Linked DNA regions of Homo sapiens: all the other regions are linked to region 4. The links are contacts of gene promoters, found by promoter capture Hi-C in human tissues and cell types (Jung and others, 2019). All regions are on one chromosome and are shown on one strand. The core of a region is centred on a gene start or on the middle of the fragment in contact, and the rest is flanking DNA. Distances in the headings are between cores, read along the strand shown.

Evidence for each region. Contacts are between HindIII fragments. The study calls those that stand out against the background at their distance.
Region 1: a contact is called between a fragment that was not itself captured here and the fragment with the promoter of SPINT1 in region 4, in 1 of the 25 tissues and cell types used here (spleen).
Region 2: the fragment with the promoter of INO80 here is called in contact with the fragment with the promoter of SPINT1 in region 4 in 3 of the 25 tissues and cell types used here (mesenchymal stem cells, ovary and spleen).
Region 3: the fragment with the promoter of EXD1 here is called in contact with the fragment with the promoter of SPINT1 in region 4 in 2 of the 25 tissues and cell types used here (lymphoblastoid cells and mesenchymal stem cells).
Region 5: a fragment that was not itself captured here is called in contact with the fragment with the promoter of SPINT1 in region 4 in 2 of the 25 tissues and cell types used here (H1 embryonic stem cells and spleen).

What each region holds. Positions count from the first base shown.
Region 1 is chr15:41,164,999-41,169,673 of GRCh38, forward strand. No RefSeq gene overlaps it. Among named protein-coding and RNA genes, the nearest start is that of INO80, 51 kb to the left of the region's middle. The HindIII fragment of the contact is 6,382 bases long and covers 1-4,675 here.
Region 2 is chr15:41,113,297-41,117,983 of GRCh38, forward strand. It overlaps INO80 (INO80 complex ATPase subunit), which reads right to left and starts at 2,984. Exons shown (of 36, transcript NM_017553.3): 1 at 2,677-2,984. RefSeq lists enhancers at 1,846-2,626, 2,252-2,301, 2,382-2,431, 2,482-2,561, 2,627-3,406 and 2 more and a silencer at 2,662-2,931. The HindIII fragment of the contact is 26,384 bases long and covers 1-4,687 here.
Region 3 is chr15:41,229,184-41,233,435 of GRCh38, forward strand. It overlaps EXD1 (exonuclease 3'-5' domain containing 1), which reads right to left and starts at 1,574. Exons shown (of 12, transcript NM_001286441.2): 1 at 1,296-1,574. CHP1 (calcineurin like EF-hand protein 1) reads left to right here and starts at 2,085. Exons shown (of 7, transcript NM_007236.5): 1 at 2,085-2,266. The coding sequence starts at 2,200. RefSeq lists a silencer at 1,599-1,658 and enhancers at 1,779-1,848, 1,869-1,928. The HindIII fragment of the contact is 9,013 bases long and covers 1-4,252 here.
Region 4 is chr15:40,841,528-40,846,236 of GRCh38, forward strand. SPINT1 (serine peptidase inhibitor, Kunitz type 1) reads left to right here and starts at 2,521. Exons shown (of 11, transcript NM_003710.4): 1 at 2,521-2,659; 2 at 2,963-3,502. The coding sequence starts at 3,028. It overlaps SPINT1-AS1 (SPINT1 antisense RNA 1), which reads right to left and starts at 2,997. Exons shown (of 2, transcript NR_146468.1): 1 at 2,652-2,997. RefSeq lists silencers at 1,959-2,141, 2,303-2,532, 2,613-2,672, 2,963-3,202 and an enhancer at 2,094-2,665. The HindIII fragment of the contact is 27,771 bases long and covers 1-4,709 here.
Region 5 is chr15:41,314,980-41,319,230 of GRCh38, forward strand. All of the region lies in intron 3 of OIP5 (Opa interacting protein 5), which reads right to left. Among named protein-coding and RNA genes, the nearest start is that of OIP5, 15 kb to the right of the region's middle. The HindIII fragment of the contact is 5,957 bases long and covers 1-4,251 here.

The DNA.
Region 1 (4,675 bases), core at 873-3,372, 320 kb after region 4:
CCGCCTCTGCCGCCCAAAGTGCTGGGATTACAGGTGTGAGCCGCCGTGCCCGGCCTTCCATGAAGCCTTAAGAAAAAAAATTTTTTATAACTTTCCCTAAAACTTTATCATTTGATAAGTAAATTTACTTTTCAAGAAGGGTATAATCAAAGAGTAAAGATAATGTGACACTAAGATATCAGTGTTTTATGAATACACATAAGGCATAAATTTCAGCTGTAAAAAAGCCACATTCAGTCTGACTCTGGTTTTAAAACAAAACTTCTGTCATAATTATAGATGATACTGCAACTTTTGGAAGGCTAATTTGGTGGAATGTTGCCTCATCATAGAACACCACAGATCATTAAAAATTATATAAAAATTTTACCAAGCTACCATATAGTTAATAAAAGGGTATACAGTCACTTTTATTTTTGAAAATATGAAACATGGAGACTTTCAGTGTATATGATGCTTCTCTTTTGGTAAGGAATTATACTTTTATTTCATGGATCCCAGGCAGGCATATCAAAGTTATGGAATTTATAAAATCATTTGGGATAATTAGAAAATTCAATTATTCATAACAGAAAAATAAAGACTTTCTCAAAAGCAAAAAAAAAAAAAAAAAAGCAGCAAATACTTATTATCTCCCAGTTTCTGGGGGGTCAGGAATCCAGGATCAGCTGAGCTGGATGATTCTGGTTCACGTTCTCTTATAAGTTTGTGGTCAAGCTATAGGCTGGACTGTAGTCACCTGAAGGCTTGACTGGGGAGGATCTACTGGAGAGGAATGACCACTGTTTGGTTGTGGGAGATGAAGACATAGTCCCTCACAGACTGTCGGCTGGAGTCCTTGGTTCTCTGTCGGGCCGAATCCTCCCAAAAGTATTCTCCCAACATGGCAACCAGAACAAGTGATCTGACAGAAAGAGTGCACCCAAGATGGAAGCCATAGTATTAGGCCTTTTAGAAGCAAGGAAAGTATATACCAAGATTCTGGGAAGATGGCAGGGTGGTAACGGTGGCATACTTTCTAGATCTTCTCAAATCCCCATGTAAAAACAGAATAATTAGAGGACAAAACTCCAAACCCATGAACAATATTTACAACATACTGGGTGATGAAGTAACTCATAAACCTGAAATTGCAAAGAGGTGGGGACAACCCAAGAGATACTGACAACCATGTGGGAAAAACAGTAGAGGGAAGCAATGGGGTATCTGACAGACCTAAGAAGAAAATTGGTATTCACTAGAGAGTGTTAAGCGCCAATTTGAGAACAACAGCTGAAACCAAAAGGGGTTTTTTCACTCCAATAGCAATTGCATGAAAGGATCCCACAGTCTGAAGGTATACCCAGGCTTGAACAGTCTAGACCCTATAAGCTCTGTATAATAACCAACCATGGATCCCTTCCAGGACAAGTTCACACACTGGGGAGAAACTTCTAGAAATGGAACAAAAACTGAGCAGGGTAGGGAAAACAGAAAGGAAAGAGAGATAAAAGTACTAGGGAAGAAGACAAAGCCAAGAAATCTCAGAAAGCAAATAACTGTGATTTTAACACTACACAAAAACAACAAAATAGGAAGCTCTGTGAAGTTAAAAAATTAATTGAGCCTAGCCTGATGTGGTGGCTCACACCTGTAATGCCAGCACTTTGGGGAGCCAAGGCAGGAAAACTGATTGAAGCCAGGAGTTCTAGACCGCCTGGACAACATAGTGGGAACCTGTCTGCCCCCGCCAAAAAAATTTTTTTTTGAGACGAAGTCTAATTCTTTCACCCAGGCTGGAGTGCAGTGGCGTGATCTCAGCTCACTGCAACCTCCACCTCTGGGTTCAAGTGATTCTCCTGCCTCACCTCCCCAGTAGCTGGGATTACAGGCATGTGTCACCATGCCTGGCCCAAAGAAACCCCTTTTTTTTTTTTTTTTGAGATGGAGTCTTGCTCTATCACCCAGGCTGCAATGGAATGGCGTGATCTCGGCTCACTGCAACCTCCGCCTCCCGAGTTCAAGCGATTCTTCTGCCTCAGCCTCCTGAGTAGCTGGGACTACAGGCGCATGCTACAGTGCCTGGCTAATTTTTGTATTTTTAGTAGAGATGAAGTTTCACCATACTGGCCAGGCTGGTCTCGAACTCCTGACCTTGTGATCCGCCTGCCTCGGCCTCCCAAAGTGCTGGGATTACAGGTGTGAGACACTGCGCCCAGCCCCAAATTTTTTTTTGAAAACTAGCTGGGCATGGTGGCACATGCCTCTAGTCCTAGCTACTTGGGAGGCTCAGGTGGGAAGATTGCTTGAGCCCAGGAAGTCAAGACTGCAGTGAGCAGTGATTATGTCACTGCACTCCAGCCTGGGTGACAGAGTGAGAGTGTCTCAAAATAAAAAAAATAAAAAATAAATAGATGAACACTCTAATATATTGGTGCATAAAAAGCTAAAATGCATTAAGAATATTATGTAAGATGGCCGGGCAGGGCGTCTCATGCCTGTAATCCCAGCACTTTGGGAGGATCACTTGAGGCCAGGAGTTGGAGTCTAGCCTTGGCAGTATAATAAGAACCCCATCTCTAAAAAACAAACAAAAAACTATACAGCATATTTTAAAAATCACACTGTATCTGAAAATGGTGATCCAGAATGACCAACACCAAAACATAGTCTAACAAAATCATTTGACTTGAAAGAAAAAGAGGCCAAGGTGGGCAGTTCGCTTGGGTCCAAGAGTTCGAGACCAGCCTGGGCAACATGGCGAGACTCTGTCTCTACTAAAAATACAAAAAAATAGCTGGGTATGGTGGTGCACGCCTGTGGTCCCAGCTACTGAAGTGGGAGGATCACTTAACCCCAGAGGGTGGAGGTTGCAGTGAGCTAAGATTTCGCCACTGCACTCTATCCTGGGTGATAGAGTGAAACACTGTCTCAAAAAAAAAAAAATTATATCAGTCGGGCGCGGTGGCTCACGCCTGTAATCCCAGCACTTCGGGAGGCCAAGGCAGGTGGATCACCTGAGGTCGGGAGTTCAAGACCAACCTGACCAAGATGGTGAAACCCTGGCTCTACTAAAAATACAAAATTAGCCAGGCGGGGTGGTGCATGCCTGTAATCCCAGCTACTTGGGAGGAGGCAGGAGAATCGCTTGAACCCAGAAGGCGGAGGTTGTAGTGATCTGAGATCAAGCCATTGCACTCCAGGCTAGGCAACAAGAGTGAAACTCTGTCTCAAAAAAAAAAAAAATTATATCTTAGTAAAACCGTTAAAAATAATTTGTGGTTGATATAACTTACAATGAGAGTTCATCAAACTACAAATGAGGTTTCTGGTTTACATAATACTATTCTGATTTTCTTCCTATTTGTCTTCTCCTTCTTGGTCTCTGTGTGTATCTCTTCCTGTTTACTTTTTTTTTTTTTTGAGAGGGAGTCTCGCTCGTCGCCCAGGCTGGAGTGTGCAGTGGCGCAATCTCGGCTCACTGCAAGCTCCGCCACCTGGGTTCACGCCATTCTCCTGCCTCAGCCTCCCGAGTAACTGGGACTACAGGTGCCCACCACACCCGGCTAACTTTTTGTATTTTTAGTAGAGATGGGGTTTCACTGTGTTCGCCAGGATGGTCTTGATCTCCTGATCTCGTAATCCGCCCACCTCAGCCTCCCAAAGTGCTGAGATTACAGGCGTGAGCCACTACACCCGGGCTTTTACCTTTTTTTTTTTTTTTTGAAAAGGAGTTTTACTCTTGTTGCCCAGGCTGGAGTGCAATGGCGAGATCTCAGCTCACCACAACCTCCGCCTCCCGGGTTCAAGTGATTCTCCTGCCTCAGCCTCCTGAGTAGCTGGGATTACAGGCATGCACCACCACACCCAGCTAATTTTGTATTTTTAGTATAAAGACAGGGTTTCTTAGTGTTGGTCAGGCTGGTCTCAAACTCCAGACGTCAGGTGATCCACCCACCTCAGCCTCCCAAAGTGCTGGGATTACAGGCATCAGCCACAGCGCCCAGCCTTGCCCTATTTTAGGAGTGTGATCTTTCTCATTCCTTTTCTCTTACTCTCTATACTCAAACCTGGAAAATACTGTATATGCTCATCACTTCAAGGGCCATTTACATCTCCCAATCTCTCTAGCTCAGATCTTTCTCCTTCTCTATATTCACATATATCTGACTGTCTAGTAGACACATCCATGTAGGAATTCCAAATGTATTCTAAATGAGAAACATGTAAAATTCAACTATCAAATCACAGTTCTGCAAACTATCCTCTCAATATATTCTCTCTGTAAATGGCACCAACTTCCAAACAGATGCCCAAGTCAGAAACCTGGGAGCCAGCCAAGACTCCTTTCCACACTTTACCATCCATATTCAATTGGTCATTTGGTTCATTATGCTTCCTAAAATCCTGTATTTGTGTATTCCTCTCCATCCTACCAACTGTATCCCACTGTATCCCTCCCAAATTCAAGCATTCACATCTTCCACCTTAATCAATGCAAGAGTTTTCATACAAGTCTTCCTCATATTATTCTTGCTCCTTTTCAATCCATCCTACAGCTTAAACCAGGACGATCTATCATCTACATTTCTGGTTGCAGTGAGCTGAGATCACATCACTGCACTCCAGTCTGGGCGAAAATAGCGAAAGTCTGTTTCAGAAAAAATAATAATTATATATATATATATATATAATC
Region 2 (4,687 bases), core at 1,734-4,233, 270 kb after region 4:
CTCTTGTTGCACTCCACTGGAGTGCAGTGGCTCAATCTCGGCTCACTGCAACCTCCGCCTCCCGGGTTCAAGCGATTCTCCTGCCTCAGCCTCCTGAGTAGCTGGGATTACAGGTGCGCGCCACCACGCCCAGCTAATTTTTTGTATTTTTGGTAGAGTCAGAGTTTAACCATGTTGGCCAGGCTGGTTTCGAACTCCTGACCTCAGGTGATCCACCTGCCTCAGTCTCCCAAAGTGCAGGGATTACAGGCGTGAGCCACCGCACCCGGCCAACAAACTTTCATTAAGTGAACCTCTAACACCACAGCTTATAATTAGTTTTGTTTTGTTTTTAGAGACAGGGTCTCGCTCTCCACCCAGGCTTGAGTGCGCTGGCACAATCATAGCTCACTAGGGACTCAAGTGATCCTCTTGCCTCCTGAGTAACTGGGACTACAGGCTTGAGACACCATGCCCAGCAGAATAGCTCTCGATTTGTTGCTTTGGCTTAATCACATTTCCACCTTGATGTACTCAAAATGTTTTTATTAGTCATAAACTTTTCTAATCACATTTGTGCTCACTACAATTATTTCCTATCACAATTTACAGACTTTCAAAAATTGATTTGGTTTCTACTGAAATAAAACGTAGAGGAAAAGAACACAGTAAGCTAAAATGATGGAATTCAATCCCTTAAAAACAAAATTCAGCCGGGCACGGTGGCTCACGCCTGTAATCTCAGCACTTTGGGAGGCCAAGGTAGGTGGATCACGAGGTCAGGGGCTCGAGACCAGCCTGACCAACATGGTGAAACCCCGTCTCTACTAAAAATACAAAAATTAGCTGGGTGTGGTGGCGGGCGCCTGTAATACCAGCTACTCAGGAGGCTGAGGCAGGAGAATTGCTTGAACCCGGGAGGCGGAAGCTGCAGTGAGCCGAGATCACGCCACTATACTCCAGCCTGGGCGACAGAGCCAGACTCCGTCTCAAAAAACAAAAAAAAAAAAACATTCATTTTAAAGTCTAGAAGGTATGCAACTTTTACCACACATAATGATCTCAAATTGTTTTATAGGAGGAGGAGCTTGGAAATTTCAAACATAAAATGCAACTAGAACAGAATATTATTTGGCATTAAAAGCAAATGAGGCCATGTGCGGTGGCTCATGCCTATAATCCCAGCACTCTGGGAGGCCAAGGCAGGCGGATCACTTGAGGTCAGGAGTTCGAGACCGGCCTAGCCAACATGGTGAAACCCCGTTTCTACTAAAAATACAAAAATTAGCCGGGTGTGGTGGCAGCCGCCTGTAATCCCAGCTACTGGGGAGGCTGAGGCACGAGAAGTGCTTGAACCTGGGAGGCGGAGGTCGCAGTGAGTCGGGACCCCGCCACTGCACTCCAGCCTGGACGACAGAGCGAGACTCAGTCTCAAAAAAAAAAAAAAAAAGGAATTAAGTACTGATACCTGCTACAACACGGATGAACCTTGAAAACACCATGTTAAGTGAAACAAACTAGGCAAAGAAAGATACATATGTTTCTTTTTTAGGTAAATTTAGGCAAAAAATATATTAATAGTTACCTAAGACTGGAGGGAGGGGGAATGGGGAGTGACTGCTAAATGGCTTCTAGAGATTCTCTTTTAGGGTGATGAATTAAATAGTGGTTGATGGCTACAGAATTTAATAAATATAGTTTCAGAAAATTACTTAATTATACGCTTTAGAAAGCGGAATTTTTTGGTATTTGAATCATATTTCAATAAAGCTATTATTTAATTTAAGTTGCCACTGAAAAGCCACAATAATTTTGTTGTGGAGGAAATAATGAAAGTCACTGACTGGAAAAGTAACCTGTGACGTTAGCCAGGTCAACCTCCAAATTCCTTCCCCCATTTCTAACAAGTACATCAAACTAGAGACAGTGTGTGAATCAAAGAATTCCAGGCACAGTTGGCTGTTAACTAGAATAGTAAGTGGCTGCCTAGGTTCTGTCATTCCTAAACTGTAGGGGGCTTCTAGCCTCGGAGATTACGGAAGTAGTACTTTCCATTAGCGAGCTCAAGAAGGAATGTCAAAATAGGATGACACTTTCCTAGTCGCTATGTAAAAACCTAAAAAACCAGAAGAGGTGTCATCTAGACACTCCCAAGTCTATGCAGGTGTCAGCCTGCCCCCACCCAACACCAGCCAGCAGCGTGCACCATTCAACCGTATCTCAACTTGCCCCTTACAAAATGACACACTAACAAGCCCTTAGATCTCATTTGTTTAAAATGACAGATACACAACCTTCACGGGGTTCCCACTCAAGGCCTTCCAGCCTCCGCCCTGCCCCTGCCCACCCCCAAACCTACACACGTGTTAGCCCGACACCGCCCCACCGGGTCCCACGTGCACCTGGTCTAACACACTCCCCACGTGTGGGCGCCCCACGGGCTTCCTCAGGTGGCTGAGGTCACCGCATGACCCCGGGTCTCCAGAGATATGAAACGGGAAGGACAAGGCCCTAGTCCCTGAGGTCCCAACCCTGCGGGGAGTGTCCACACCCATCCTCCATACTAACCCCAACAAATCCAAGGGCCGGGGGCGACGGCCCCTTTAAGACGCGGCCCAGTTGTCGCCCGCAGAGAGGGGCGCAACAAGACCTACACAACCCCCACTCCGTTCGCCCGCCCACGTCTAGTTGCCTCACCTCGGGCCGCCTGGCCCCGCCGCCGCGACGGCGGCGGAGGGGGGGCGGGGTGCGGGCGGGGTCCGGAGGGGGGGGTCGCCCCGCCGACGGTGGAGCCGCGGTTCGCTCTCTGAGGCCGTGGGACGGTGACTGCGTTGGGCGTGGACGCTCCTAGCTCGCTCCCTCCGCGGCTCCTGGGACCCCAAGATGGCGGCGGCGCTGAGGCGGCTGCGGGCGCTGGGCCGGCGGCGGCGGCGGCCACTTTCACTCACTGAGAGGAGCGGAGCAGGGACACGGGGAGCCATGGCGGGGGGGAGGAGAGGCGCCATAGCCAGGCCAGAACAATCGAGCCGCTACACGGGTGGCTTACCCCCACCCCGCCCACACTCACTGCTCGTCGCCTGCCCGTGGCCACCCGTAGTGCCGCTGCCGTCGGCCTCGCGCAGCTCGCACCCCGCCGCTGCCACCTGACGCCCCGTGCGAACCGGGGTTCGAGGGGAGACCCTGATCCATGCCATCTGAGTACAGATTAGTCGGGACTGGGACTGGCGAAGATTGCCGAAAGGCGGCGGGGAGGAGGAGGAGGATGTCATCGCTACAGTGAGCAAGCAGATCTCGCAGGAGAAAATGTCGCGAGAGCTTTCCAGGCCCGCAACCGCCGATGCAAGGTTACTTTTCCCGGAAGTAACGTCAATCGAAACCGCCCGGGATCCTGGGATATTTGTTCCCGCAGGCTAGAGGTGGGAAGGTGCAGCCAAGTTGATAAGATCTCTTTAGGGGAAGGAGAGGCTCGCAGCTGGTATTTTGTTACTAGTTTCTGACCCCTTTGGATGGGGTTGTAGATTGTCGGGGAAGTGCCTGGTGTGTAGTTCGACTACTATACAGTAATTAGTTTGGGGCTCCCATTTAGACTCTGGGAGCAAGAACGCTATAGGTTGGGTAGGACAGCATAGTTAGATAAGATGTCTACGTGAAGGTTGTGGGATACAAGGACTTGGGAACACGCAGACCTGTTATCGGAAATGCCAGCCTGTTCTCACATCCACACAGTGTGCCTCTGAAAAGCGAATAATTGCTTTTACCTGTGCCAATTCTACAATTTGAGTCCACTGCCACCCACATTTACTAAACTTGGGGTCTCGCTATGTTGCCCAGTCTACTGGGCTGGTTCCCAGTCTCCTGGCCTGAAGTGATCCTCCTGCCTGGAAGGATCACCTCAGGCCAAACGTCTCAGAGCAGTCCATTAGACTGGTCAACATAGCGAGACCCCGTCTCTACAAAAAAGACAACATAATAAATGTAATCGACCCAACTACCAGGATGTGTGGTGAGAATTGCCTAGGGTAAGGCCTAGGTGTAGATAAGAATTAGAACTTACTGAAAGTTAAATATGCTGTTAATTCAGTTCCTTTGGGTCTCATTCTTTAATCCATTTTAACCTGGCCCTTAGCATTTAACTAAAAAGTACTTTATTAAGGTCATCAAGTAGCCTTCTTGTGCTGAGTTAACTGACCTTTAAAAAGTTAAATTTGTGTCAGGGTGCAGTGCCACACGCCTGTAATCCCAGCACTTTGGGAGGTCAGGTGGTCGAATCACCTGAGGTCAGGAGCTCGAGACCAGCCTGACCAATATGGTGAAACCCCATCTCTACTAAAAATACAAAAATTAGCCGGGCGTGGTGGCGGGTGCCTGTAGTCCAGCTACTTGGGAGCCTGAGGCAGGAGAATCGCTTGAACCTGGGAGGCGGAGGTTACAGTGAACCGAGATCGCACCATTGCACTCCAGCCTGGGCAGCAAGAGCGAAATTCCGTATCAAAAAGAAAAAAAAAAAAATCCATCTCAAAAAGAAAAAAAAAAAGTTACATTTGCAAGCCAAGCGCGGTAGCTCACGCGTGTAATCCCGGCACTTTGGGAGGCTGAGGCGGGTGGATCACTTGAGGTCGGGATTTTGAGACCAGCCTGGCCAACATGGTGAAACCTCGTCTCTACTGAAAAAAAAAAAAAAAAAAAAAAAAAAAGATTAGCCGGGCGT
Region 3 (4,252 bases), core at 324-2,823, 390 kb after region 4:
AAATAACTCTAAGGCCGGGCACGGGGACTCACGCCTGTAATCCCAACACTTTGGGAGGCCGAGGCGGGTGGATCACCTGAGTTCTGGAGTTTGAGACCCGCCTAGACAATATGGTGAAACCCTGTCTCTACTAAAAATACAAAAATTAGCTGGGCGTGGTGGCACGCGCCTGTAATCCCAGCTACTCAGGAGGCTGAGGCATGATAATCCCTTGAACCCGCCTGGAGGTTGCAGTGAGCCGAAAATGCACAGTGATCAGGCCATTGCACTCCAGCCCGGACTCTGTCGCAAAAAAACAAAACAAGCCAGGTGCGGTGGCTCACGCCTGTAATCACAGCACTTTGGGAGGCTGAAGCGGGCAGATCACCTGAGATACGGAGTTCGAGACCAGCCTGACCAACATGGAGAAGCCCTGTCTCTACTAAAAATACAAAATTAGCTGGACACGGTGGCGCATGCCTGTAACCCCAGCTACTAGGGAGTCTGAGGCAGGAGAATCGCTTGAACCCGGGAGGCGGAAGTTTCGGTGAGCTGAGATGGCGCCTTTGCACTTCAGCCTGGGCAGAAGAGCAAAAACTCCGTCTCAAACAACAACAACAACAACAAACAAACAAAACTCTAGTTCTTCAAACTAGAACCTCAGCTTGCAGGGAACGTGTGGGGCCTCAGGCTAAGCTGTAAAGCCTTAGGTAACACTTAAAACTAGTAACTTAAGTTGACCTGGGAAAGCCTGCTACGACAAAAATATCCTGGTACTTGGGTACTAACAGCAGTCAGAATTCGGTTCTTCCTTATCTTATACGTGTTCTAACCAAACAGGTGTGAAGGGGTAAGGCAGGTGAAGCAGTAAGAACTGGTTCACCTGAGAGTAGGCACTAATTTAACGGGTGGCTTTTACCTTTTTTTTTTTTTTTTTTTGAGACGGAGTCTTGCTCTGTCACCCAGGCTGGAGAGCAATGCCGCGATCTCGGCTCACTGCAACCTCCGCCTCCCGGGTTCAAGCGATTCTCCTGCCTCAGCCTCCCGAGTAGCTGGGATTACAGGCACGCGGCACCACACCCGGATAATTTTGTATTTTTATTAGAGATGGGGTTTCTCCATATTGGTCAGGCTGGTCTCGAACTCACGACCTCAGGTGTTCTGCCCACCTCGGCCTCCCAAAGTGCTGGGATTACAGGCGTGAGCCACCGTGCCAGGCCTACCTTTTTAATCAAAACAAACAATACACCATGAGAATAAAATGCAAAATTTCTCATTTTTAAGACAAAATAAGGAACTTCAAATAAATGGCGGACCATAAGCTAGGAATTCACTGTCCTCCATCGTTAGGGCTTTTTCCTCCGAAGGAAGTTTGGGAAATCTGGATCCTAATTTCAGCCAAGTGGTGCGTTCCTCGAACTTCAGTCTAGAACTAAAAGAAGAGGGGCTGCAATGAAGGAAGAAGTCTCGGGACGCTCCACGCCACCCGGCGGCGGTTATCAAATCACAGGCTGAAAACCTGGAGAAAGGTCCGCGACGCCGGGGACACACGCCGCAGAGGCGACGCCCGCCCGGCCCAACGTCCAGTCTCGTCTGTTTCCCGAGGAGCCAATCAGCACGCGGCCCCGAGGCCGGCTCCCCAGCGCCCCCTGCGGCCGGGAGGAGGACGGCAGCCAGGAAAGATGAAGAGCGCGTGCAGTCCCCGAAGGGTACACCCTAGGGTTCCCCCCCACGCGAAGTTTCTCTCCGCAATCCGTGCCACCTATCGAGTAGGATTCCTAGTGTTCGATTCCTGTGAGAAAAGGTAGACTACGCTGCCTGTCGCAGGTTAGTTTGTTGTAAAACTGTTGGTCAATGACGTTGCCCTTTTAATTGCGTCGTTAGCGACCGAGTGGCATCGCCCCTTTAAGGCCGGTGGCAGCTGCGGTTCCGGGGGCGGGGTCCGTCTTCAGCAGGACTTGGGCTGGAGCTGGGCTGATTCATTCGGGGCTGGAACTCGAACGCTGACGTTGGCTCCTGAGCCGGGCGCTGCCTCGCGCCTGATTGGCGGGTCCTCGGGGCCGCCCTCCCCAGCGCACCACCCCTGGGTTCCCTCCCGGGTCCGCAGTGGAAACACTGCCCTCTCCCTTCTTGACCCCTAGCCCTTCCTTCCCTCCCTCCTTCCCTCCTGTCGCCGTCTCTTCTGGCGCCGCTGCTCCCGGAGGAGCTCCCGGCACGGCGATGGGTTCTCGGGCCTCCACGTTACTGCGGGACGAAGAGCTCGAGGAGATCAAGAAGGAGACCGGCTGTGAGTTCGGGTTGGGGGTGGGAACGCCGGGCGCCTCAGGCTGGCCTCACAACCAAGGGCGGCTGTCGCTAAGGTCTGGAGCTCGGGTGCCTGTGAGGTTGGGGGGTCCTGGGCAGCCTCCAGGTTTGGGGACCGAGAGCTGGAAGACCTGTTCTTCCAGCTGCAGCTTCCTGGAGCGGGGCTCTAGCTACTGTGGGGCTGTCCTTCCCTTCAAAATCGGGACTCTTGATCACTCGTAGAGCGTCGACGCCCCCCTTTTCTGCACCCTGCCCATCAAAGTCCCCGAACTCCTTTCCTTTCTGTTGCCTCGCACCACCCTTCCCTATGAAGAGGCATCCTGAACAGTAGGTAAAGCCCGAGAAGCAAATTCAGGAACTCGAGATGGATTCTGTAGAAAATCCGTTTCTGGGTAAGGACCTAAAACCTCTGACAACTATGGGAAATTACAAACAAGTTCTTGTCACAAATTGGGAAAACCACCCAGAAAGCAAGACCGTGTAGTAAGGCTTTGGGAGACATGACCCGATGCCTGGAGACCTTTAAACAATCAGGGGTCTGGGATTGTGAGACTTCTTTCAATCTGAACTTCTAGAGAAAAAACACGGATACTGTGACCACCAGTTTTTTACTTACACGACGATACTTGCTGTCCTAATCTCATATATGTATTGATTTCTACTATGCTGGTGTACTTTTTTATTCGCTATTGAAATTGGATGTGCTCCAAAAATCTCCGTGTGAATTTGTACTAGGAACTGATTTTTTTTTTTTTTTTTTTTGAAACGGAGTCTCCCTCTGTCAACCAGGCTGGAGTGCAGTGGCGTGATCTCGGCACACTGCAACTTCCGCCTCCCAGGTTCAAGCAGTTCTCCTGCCTCAGCCTCCCAGGTAGCTGGGAGTACAGGTGCCTGCCACCACGCTTGGCTAATTTTTGTATTTTTGGTAGAGATGGGGTTTCACTATGTTGGCCCGGCTGGCCTCGAACTCCTGACCTCAAGTGATCCACCCACCTCGGCCTCCCAAAGTGCTGGGATTACAGGTGTGAGCCACCGTGCCCTGCAGAACTGATTTTTTTTTTTATAGTCCAGTCTCTTCCTCATTAGTCTGAACAAAGGAGCAAAAGGACTCGGGATTCTGAAGCGCTGTAAAATACCATCATAACTTTGAATAGTCCTTGATAATGCAATGTATGATACAATTGTATTGATGCATACAATATTTTATCTTTTCAGTAAACCTTTATGATTCTTATTGAGTTAATGAAGGATGTAGCACCTGAGCTCTGTCTCTTCATCATACTTGTCTTTGATAATGACATGACCAGTAACTCACTCCGGCCCATATGCAGATAGTACTGAGGAGTGCTATGGGGAACTACAGAATTTTTCAGGCCTGTTTAAGTGCTGTTCTCTGCTTTGTGACAAGTTCAACTTTCTGGAGTTTTCAAGTTGGAAGGGATGTTTTCTAGCCCCACCCCTTTCTGGACTGGTTTGCTTCTTTCAGCCTCCCCTAAAATATGGCCCTTAAGCCTCTCTGTAAAGACATTTAATGATGGTAACCTCTCCACCTACCAAGGCAGTCCTTTTCACGATTTGAATGACCCAAAGTAGTTAGCTCTTTATAATTTGCAGTACTTGTTTGGCCACTGACTTACTCTGACCCTCGGAGTGGAGACGCAAGCAGTTTGGATTCAACAAGCATTTTATTACGTTTTGTGGCCATAACTTCTGGCCACATTTGTAATTAGTACTACTTTAGGTCTAGGGTGACACCGAATTAAAGTATTTGTGTTAAAGAGTCACATGGAGAAATAAGCAGAATCAAAGAGAAATAAATATAGAGTCACATAATGAGAAAGTGTAAACCATAGTGAAGATGCAAAAAGCCATTTTTGCTTCAGAATGAAGGGAGCAGTAATCCCATTCTGGTTTATATACATTTGACCAAATGGAAATGACCTGGATGGGATATTTTTACCATGTGGCT
Region 4 (4,709 bases), core at 1,271-3,770:
CCCAGTAATAGGATTGCTGAGTTGAATGGTAGTTCTAAGTTTTTGAGAAATCTCCAAGCTGCTTTCCACAGTGGCTGAACTGATTTACATTCCCACCAACAATGTATAAGCGTTCCCTTTTCTCTGCATCCTCACCACCATGTGTTTTTGTTGTTGTTGTTGTTGTCGTTTCAAGTAACATTTATTGAGAACTCTTTGTGTCAAATGCTTTGTCTGCATTAACTCAATTAATCCTCATAAAAAACCTTATGAAGCCCCACTTCCCATTCAAGGAGACTAAGGCAGAGAGATCAAATAACTTGCACAAGGCCACACGAATAGTAAGTGGCAGATGCAAGAGCTAAATCCAGTAGTCTGAGTCTGAAGCTCACAAGTTCAACTTCTCTACAACCTGTCACCACTCTTCGTTCACTACCTGACCTTGATGGAGTCAGTGAACCTTTCTGCAAAGTGGAAGCAATTTTTAGAGTTGTCCTGAGCATTAGCAATCCTATGTCAAGTGCCTGGAGGGAACACAGTGGGCATCTCAACAAATGGTGGGTGCTCACCACTTGAAAGTGAGTTATGGGTTTAAGCAAGTTGAATCTGAGGTGAGGGCAGAACTTCCAGATGAAGTCAGAATTGCAAAGGCCATAAAGCCCAGGGTTTAAGCACTGAAGCCATGGAATTGGCCTGCCTGGGCTCCAATCCCTACTCTGCCGCTTCAATGCTGAATGACCTGACAAGTCAGTTTACCTGTCTGAGCCTGTTTGCTCATTTGTAAAATGGGGCTAAAAATACTACCTCCCTAGGTTTGTTTTGAGTATAGGGTAATATGTGGGCAGTGCTTAGGAACAGAGTTTGGGCATTGTCAGTGCTGAATTCATGTTGGTTTTTATAATGGTGTGTATAATGGATGTAATGATAAATTTATGGTGATGTAATATTACCATAAGGTAATATTTTCCTGTATTAAGATTCTTGAGGTCAGGCACAGTGGCTCACGCCTATAATCCTAGCACTTTGGGAGGCCGAGGTGGGTGGATCACCTGAGGTCAGGAGTTCAAGACCAGCCTGGCCAAAAAGGTGAAACCTCGTTTCTACTAAAAATACAAAAATTAGCTCGGCGTGGTGGTGCCCACCTGTAAGCCCAGCTACTTGGGAGGCTGAGGCAGAATTTCCTGAATCTGGAAGGCAGAGGTTGCAGTGAGCCGAGATCGTGCCATTGCACTCCAGCCTGGGTGACAGAGCAAGACTCCGTCTCAAAAAAAAAAAAAAAAAAATAAATAAATAAATAAATAAAGATTCTTGAATGTGTTAGCCATAAGGGGAAATCAAATCACAACAAAACCCTTTCTTCCCAGTGACTGCACAATCATTTTCTTCATTCCCAGCATACCACCATTGTTGTATATCCACCAGTGTGCCAGGGTCTGTGGATAAACCCTAAACATCCAGAGAAGGGGAGACAGGCCCCAGATTCCCACCCCAACACGCATCATGTGAGCAGCTGGAGGATGTTGCAGTTCAGCAAAATCCAAGGGTTGGCCACAGGATCTGCTAGGCAAAGCTGCTCTGGATGAGAAACTGGGAAGAATGTTCCCATTGGTTTGGGGGTTGTTAAGCCATCAGGAAAAGGTTTGGAATCTGTATTTTAAGAGAGCATGCTATGTGATTCCTTCCTCCAGCCCTGCCTTCATCTGTCTTTCACCTGTTCAGACCCTTGCCGTAGAGAATGGTCTCTTAAGAGTTTTTTACTCAGGAGGAGCAATGAGCTTGGCTTCAAGGAGTCCACTGTTTCGTGAAGGGCATTAACTCAGCTACTTGGTGAACTGGAACCTCCAGGCTTCCAAGGATGACATTTCCCTGGAAGAAAGTAGCCAGCAGCGTCCCCTTTGTGAAAGAGAGGAAGCCTGGGCTCCAGGGAAGGGGGCAACAGTCCAATGAGCCATAGCAGGGAATGGACCGAACTGTACATACAAGATGAGGAGGGGCCTCGAACAACAGGGAAGCCCCGTGGAGCACGCAGGGGAGCCTGGACGCGGGGAATCGCCTCCGTTTCTCACCCTGACAGCAGGGAGGGCTTCCCGGAGCTGACAGTGAGGCAGACATCCCGGATCCCTGTTATCACAGGTGCAGCCACGCAACTTTTGGGTTACCTTCCCGCCACGAAATGGAAATGATTTCCTGAGGGCCGGAAAGATCATTTGCATCGGGCCTCAGGTCTGGGGCTGGGAAAGCAGGCCCCGGCCGGAAAGGAAGACTGGAGGCCGCCGCCCCAGAGGCCGGACCCTCGCGTCCCGGCCGCATCCCCTCCCGGCTGGGTATGCGCTTCGGGCGCGGGGCTCCCTCGCGAGGCTGGACTGGGTGGAGCCCGAGAGCCCCTCCGGGGAGCTGGCTGCCGGGGAGGCACCGGGGCTGCGGGGCCGCGGGGCGGGCCGGGCCTGGAGCTCCGCGCTAGAGGCGGCCGCAGCGCACCGGGCGTGGGCGGGGCCGGCAGCGCAAGGGTGAATGTCGGCCCCGCCCCGACGGCGCTGACTCAGTTTCACCAGAAACCAGGGGGAGAAGGCGGCCGAGCCCCAGCTCTCCGAGCACCGGGTCGGAAGCCGCGACCCGAGCCGCGCAGGAAGCTGGGACCGGAACCTCGGCGGACCCGGCCCCACCCAACTCACCTGCGCAGGTAACCCGGGCCCCCGCGCGCAAGGCCGAGGCGCAGGCGGAGCGGGCTGGAGCATGTCCGGCCCTTTGTTCTGCGCTCGTGCGTGTGTCCGGGTACTTGAGCTCCCTAGCGGTCCGCCTGTCCGTCTGTCTGGCTGCCGGGTCCCTGGAGGGCGCGTGGGAGGGCCGGGCCCGTGCGCCCTCTTCGATCCTGGGGTGCTCCGGTCCCTCCTCCCCGCCACTTCCTCCCGGCCGGCCCGCCTCCTCCAAAGTCTCCCGGGCTGATCAGGTGTGTCTCCTCCTCTGTCCCCTCCCTTCTTCTCAGGTCACCAGCACCCTCGGAACCCAGAGGCCCGCGCTCTGAAGGTGACCCCCCTGGGGAGGAAGGCGATGGCCCCTGCGAGGACGATGGCCCGCGCCCGCCTCGCCCCGGCCGGCATCCCTGCCGTCGCCTTGTGGCTTCTGTGCACGCTCGGCCTCCAGGGCACCCAGGCCGGGCCACCGCCCGCGCCCCCTGGGCTGCCCGCGGGAGCCGACTGCCTGAACAGCTTTACCGCCGGGGTGCCTGGCTTCGTGCTGGACACCAACGCCTCGGTCAGCAACGGAGCTACCTTCCTGGAGTCCCCCACCGTGCGCCGGGGCTGGGACTGCGTGCGCGCCTGCTGCACCACCCAGAACTGCAACTTGGCGCTAGTGGAGCTGCAGCCCGACCGCGGGGAGGACGCCATCGCCGCCTGCTTCCTCATCAACTGCCTCTACGAGCAGAACTTCGTGTGCAAGTTCGCGCCCAGGGAGGGCTTCATCAACTACCTCACGAGGGAAGTGTACCGCTCCTACCGCCAGCTGCGGACCCAGGGCTTTGGAGGTGAGGAGGGTGCCAAGATGGATGGGTTTGGAGAGACTCAAAAAAGGGACTGGTTATGGGGTCCTAGGGGAGACGAACATCAGAGAGGAGTTAAGGAGAGTTCACTTTTTTTTTTCTTTTTCTTTCTTTTTTTTTGCGACGGAGTCTCGCTCTTGTCGCCCAGGCTGGAGTGCAATGGCGCAATCTCTGGTTGCTCACTGCAACCTCCGTCTTCCACGTTCAAGTGATTCTTCTGTCTCAGCCTCCGGAGTAGCTGGAACTACAGGCACCCGCTACCAGACCCGGCTAATTTTTTTTTTTTTTTTTTTTTTTTTTTTTTTGGTACAGACGGGGTTTCACTATGTTGGCCAGGCTGGTCTTGAACTTCTGAACTCAGGTGATCCACCCACCTTGGCCTCCCAAAGTGCTGGGATTATTTCTACCTGAAGCCCTCCTTAGAAGTAGGCAGTACAGCCGAATCAAGCCTGGTGATCAATGGGGTGACAGATGTCACAGCCAGATCGCCTTCACATCGGTAGTAGGCAGTACAAACAGTAAACAAATGAAAGGGGACATGAGTAGGGAGGGCAGGGCCCAGGCTCTGGCTCCTGAACTCAGGATGTTCAGAGGTGATGGGCTGGTGCTCACAGGGAGGCCTTTGGCTCTGGGCTGTGTGTACTGGAGGGGAGAGGAAGTCCCCAGGACTCCTGACCTCTGGCACTGATAGGCTGATTGAAGGAGTGAGCTGTCTGGATGGTCTGGTGACTAGAAAGGCACCTTGGCCAAGCACTGGTCTGGGCACACCGATGCCCTGTCAGGTGAGCCTGGCCATAGTCTCCTCCACTGGCTGGACTTGGGACTGCTTAGCATCTCTCTACCCCCTAGGAATGCATTGGCCTTTTGGTGGTCCAGGAAGACTGCCAGATCCGAGACTAGAAAACAAGCCCAGTCTGCGGTTGATCCAAAGGGAGAGAAGTGATGTTGTAGGCACAGAAGCCTAGAGGCTCTGGGGTGGGGGATGAGGAGGGTTGTGGGGTGAGTCAGCCTGTTGGTATGTATACCTAGTAGGGAAGGGATGTCAGCTGTCCAGGCAGGTGTGTGTGCATGCGCATGAGCCAGACAGGGCTCTCCCTGCTTAGAATCTGGTAGCCAAACCTTGTTTACTTCCATAGATAAAGGCAAAGCGGAGGCCAGGGCTCCTCCTCTTTCTTCCCCGGACTGAACTGTC
Region 5 (4,251 bases), core at 1,605-4,104, 470 kb after region 4:
GGCATGCCTGTAGTCCCAGCTACTTGGGAGGCTGAGTTGGGAGGATCACCTGAACCCAAAAGGTTGAGGCTGCAGTGAACCATGATCGCTCCAGCCTGTGTGACAGTGAGACCCTGTCTCAAAAAAAAAAAAAAAAAGAATAAAAAAAAGATTAAGAAAATTTATGCTGGCGGGGCGCAGTGGCTTATGCGTGTAATCCCAGCACTTTGGGAGGCCGAGGCGGGGGGATCACCTGAGGTCAGGAGTTTGAGACCAGCCTGGCAAACATGGTAAAACCCCATTTCTAATAAAAATACAAAAATTAGCAGGCTGTGGTGGAGCGCACCTGTGGTCCCATCTGCTTGGGAGGCAAGGCAGGAGAATCACTTGAACCTGGGAGGCGGAGGTTGCAATGAGCTGAGATCACACCACTGTGTTCCAACTTGGGTGACAGAGCAAGACTCTGTCTCAAAAAAAAAAAAAAAATTTATGCTGATGAAAAGGGGGAATTTTCTTGTGTTCCCATACTCTCCATATCCTTTTCCTTCATGTTTAGGATGCTATCATCAATAGATGTAATGACTGTAATTGCAGCAGCCATCCCGAATCCAAGAGGAAAAGGCCAAAGTTTCTACTTAATCAAAAAGAATGTCCTGACCTTTTATCCAACTCATTTTAAAGATTAAGAAATTAACCAAAATCCCATAATGCTTTTCAAATTTATGTTAAAAATATGTTACTAAAAGCTTACTGCCCTAACAAAAATGCAATTATTGCTTCTCTAGAACATTTACTTTTGTACTGATTTCTAAAAAAGATGTGGGATTACTAACAGCACACATTTACAGTTTTTTTTCCCACTTTAAAGTTAATTCTAAATAGAAATTGCTTAAGAATCTAGAAATTGGTGGCGCAGTGGCTCACACCTGTAATCCCAGCACTTTAGGTGGCCAAGGCAGGAGATCAAGACCATGCTGGCTAACACGGTAAAACCCCGTCTCTACTAAAAATACAAAAAAATTAGCCAGACATGGTGGCGGGCGCCTGTAGTCCCAGCTACTCGGGAGGCTGAGGCAGGACAATGGCGTGAACCTGGGAGGCGGAGCTTGCAGTGAGCCGAGATGGTGCCACTGCACTCCAGCTCCAGCCTGGGCGAAAGAGCAAGACTCCGTCTCAAAGAAAAAAAAAAAGAATCTAAAAATTGAGGCTGGGCATGGTGATTAATGCCTGTAATCTTAACATTTTGGGAAGCCCAGGCAGGAGAATCACTTGAACCCAGGAGGTGCAGGTTGCAGTGAGCTGAGATCATGCCATTGCACTTCCAGCCTGGGTGACAGAGTGAGACTCCGTCTTTAAAAAAAGAGAATGATCAATCCATCTCAGGATCTCAGGTATATATTTTGTGTTGGAAATTTGCAATGAAGAACAAATGGTATACCTAATGCACAGTGAGCAACCCATGGTAAAGGACTGGCTGATAAGTTTTATTGTTTAGTCAACCATAACTCAGCTAAAAACATCTATCTAAGCATAAGAAATGAGAAAAAGCGGCCGGGCGCGGTGGCTCATGCCTGTAATCCCAGCACCTTAGGAGGCCAAGGCGGGCGGATCACGAGGTCAAGGAGATCGAGACCATCCTGGCTAACACAGTGAAACCCCGTCTCTACTAAAAATACAAAAAATTAGCCAAGCGTGGTGGTGGGCGCCTGTAGTTCCAGCTACTTGGGAGGCTGAGGCAGGAGAATGGTGTGAACCCAGGGGGTGAAGCTTACAGTGAACCAAGATCACGTCACTGCACTCCAGCCTGGGCGCCACAGCAAGACTCCATCTCAAAAAAAAAAAAAAAAAAAAAGACATGAGAAAAAGGAAACCTTTTAGTTTTATGAAAGGAAAATAAGCTTTTGAGTTAAGACATGCTCAAATCTCAGCTCTTCCACCTCTTTGAGCCCTAGTTTTCTTAAACTATATTAAGAACTCAGTGATATAAGCATAATGCCTACATAAACTAGGTTGTCAATGCTTGTTTTTGTTTTTTAATGGTCAAGGAAAGACTTCTAAGGATGTTTCAGTTTCTTGTAATAAGTAAAAAAGCTTAAGTTAAAAGTGCAATTTATTAGGAAAATAATGAAATAGCCAATGTAATTCATGAGAAAGGATAACCAGTAGGGTAGTTTTTCTGACACTATGAGGCTACATGATCATTATTTTTACTTTTCTCTGTGTCTGCTTCATGTTTTACTGCAGAGAAGACTTCCCTGCAGCTACATGCATCACATGGGAAATAGCTATCCCATACATAGAGCTTTCACTTCCAAACTTCAACACTAGTACTATCTACACGTAACTGGTATTTCTGGGCCCTTGTTTCAAATTCCTAAGGTAGAAAACTGGTTGGCTTAGTTTGGGTCAGGTATCCATTTTTCTTTTTTTTTTTTTTTTTGAGACAGAGTCTCGCTCTGTTGCCAGGCTGGAGTGCAGTGGCGCGATCTTGGTTCACTGCAACCTCTGACTCCCCGGTTCAAGTGATTCTCCTGCCTCAGCCTCCCAAGTAGCTAGGATTACAGGCATGCGCCACCATGCCCAGCTAATTTTTTTTGTATTTTTAGTAGAGACGGGGTTTCCCATGTTGGCCAGGATGATCTCGATCTCCTGACCTCATGATCTGCCCACCTCGGCCTCCCAAAGTACTGGGGTTACAGGCGTGAGCTACCACGCCCAGCACCGTTTTTGGTTTTTAAGAGACAGGGTCTTGCTCTGCTCCCCATGCTAGAATACAGTGACACAATCATAGCTCACTGTAACCTTGAACTCCTGGGCTGTAGCTATCCTCCCACCTTAGCCTCCAGAGTAGCTAGGACTACAGGCATACACCACCATACACAGTTAATATTTTAAATTTTTTGTAGAGACAGAGTCTTGCTATGTTGCCTAGGCTGGTCTCAAACTCCTAAGCTCAAACAATCCTCCAACTCAGCCTTCCAAAGTGCTGAGATTACAGGCATGACCCACCATGCCTGGCCAGGTATTCATTCTTGATCCAGTACCTGGGAGTGGGAATCACACATGATACAAATCACACATGATACAAATATACAAGGCCCCACCTATTAGAGGGAGAGAGAGGCTGGGCACAAACCCAAAAGGTATCTACTGCAACATTATTTTGCAAAAGCTTGCCTTCTAGAATGTTCTTTTTATCTTTTATTTATTTTTATTTTTTCTGAGACAGAGTCTAGCTCTGTCACCCAGGCTGAAGTGCAGTGGCTTGATCTTGGCTCACTGCAACCTCCGCCTCCTGGGTTCAAGCAATTCTTCTGCCTCACCTCCCGAGTAGCTGCGACCACAGGCGTGTGCCACCACACTTGGCTTATTTTCGTATTTTAAATGGAGATGGGGTTCCACCATGTTGGCCAAGCTGGTCTCGAACTCCTGACCTCAGGTGAACCCCCGACCTCAGCCTCCCAAAGTGCTGGGATTACAGGCGTGAGCCACTGCACCCGGCCCATAAGGGAGCAGTTTGAGATGGGAGGCTTCACCATGTTGCCTAGGCTGGTCTCAAACACCAAGATTCAAGTGATCCTCCTGCCTCAGCCTCCTGGGTAGCTAGAATTACAGGCACACACCACCACATCTGGCAACAAGTTTCTTTAATGAAAGAATACCCTCTGAATTTTCCCATGGTATGACTTTTAAGATATGGTATGATAAGACATGGAAGATAATCATAATGTTATAAGATTATATTTTGGTCCCACTGCTTTTTTTTTTTTTTGTCACCCAAAGTGGAATGCAGTGGTATGATCACAGCAAAATGTAACCTTGAACTCCTGGGCTCAGGTGATCCTCCCACCTCAGCCTCCCAAGTAACTGGGACTATAGGGGCACGCCGCCACATCCAGCTAATTTTTTAAAATTTTGTATAAAAAAAAAACAGGAGTCTCACTATATTGCCCATGGAGGTCTTGAACTCCTGCCCTCAAGCAGTCCTCCCACCTTGGCCTCACAAAGCATTGGCATTACAGGCGCGAGCCATCACACCTGGCCCACTGCTATCTTTTTGTCAAAGACAGTGCCTGACTTTAGCATCTTTTTGGTACAAACACTTTGTCTTTTTTCTTTTTTTTTTTTTTGAGACAGAGTCTTGTTCTGTCACCCAGGCTGGAGTGTAGTGGTGCAATCTCAGCTCACTGTGCAACCTCCACCTCTCAGGTTGAAGCAATTCTCTTGCCGCAGCCTCCCAAGTAGCTGGGATTACAGGTGTGCACTAGCATG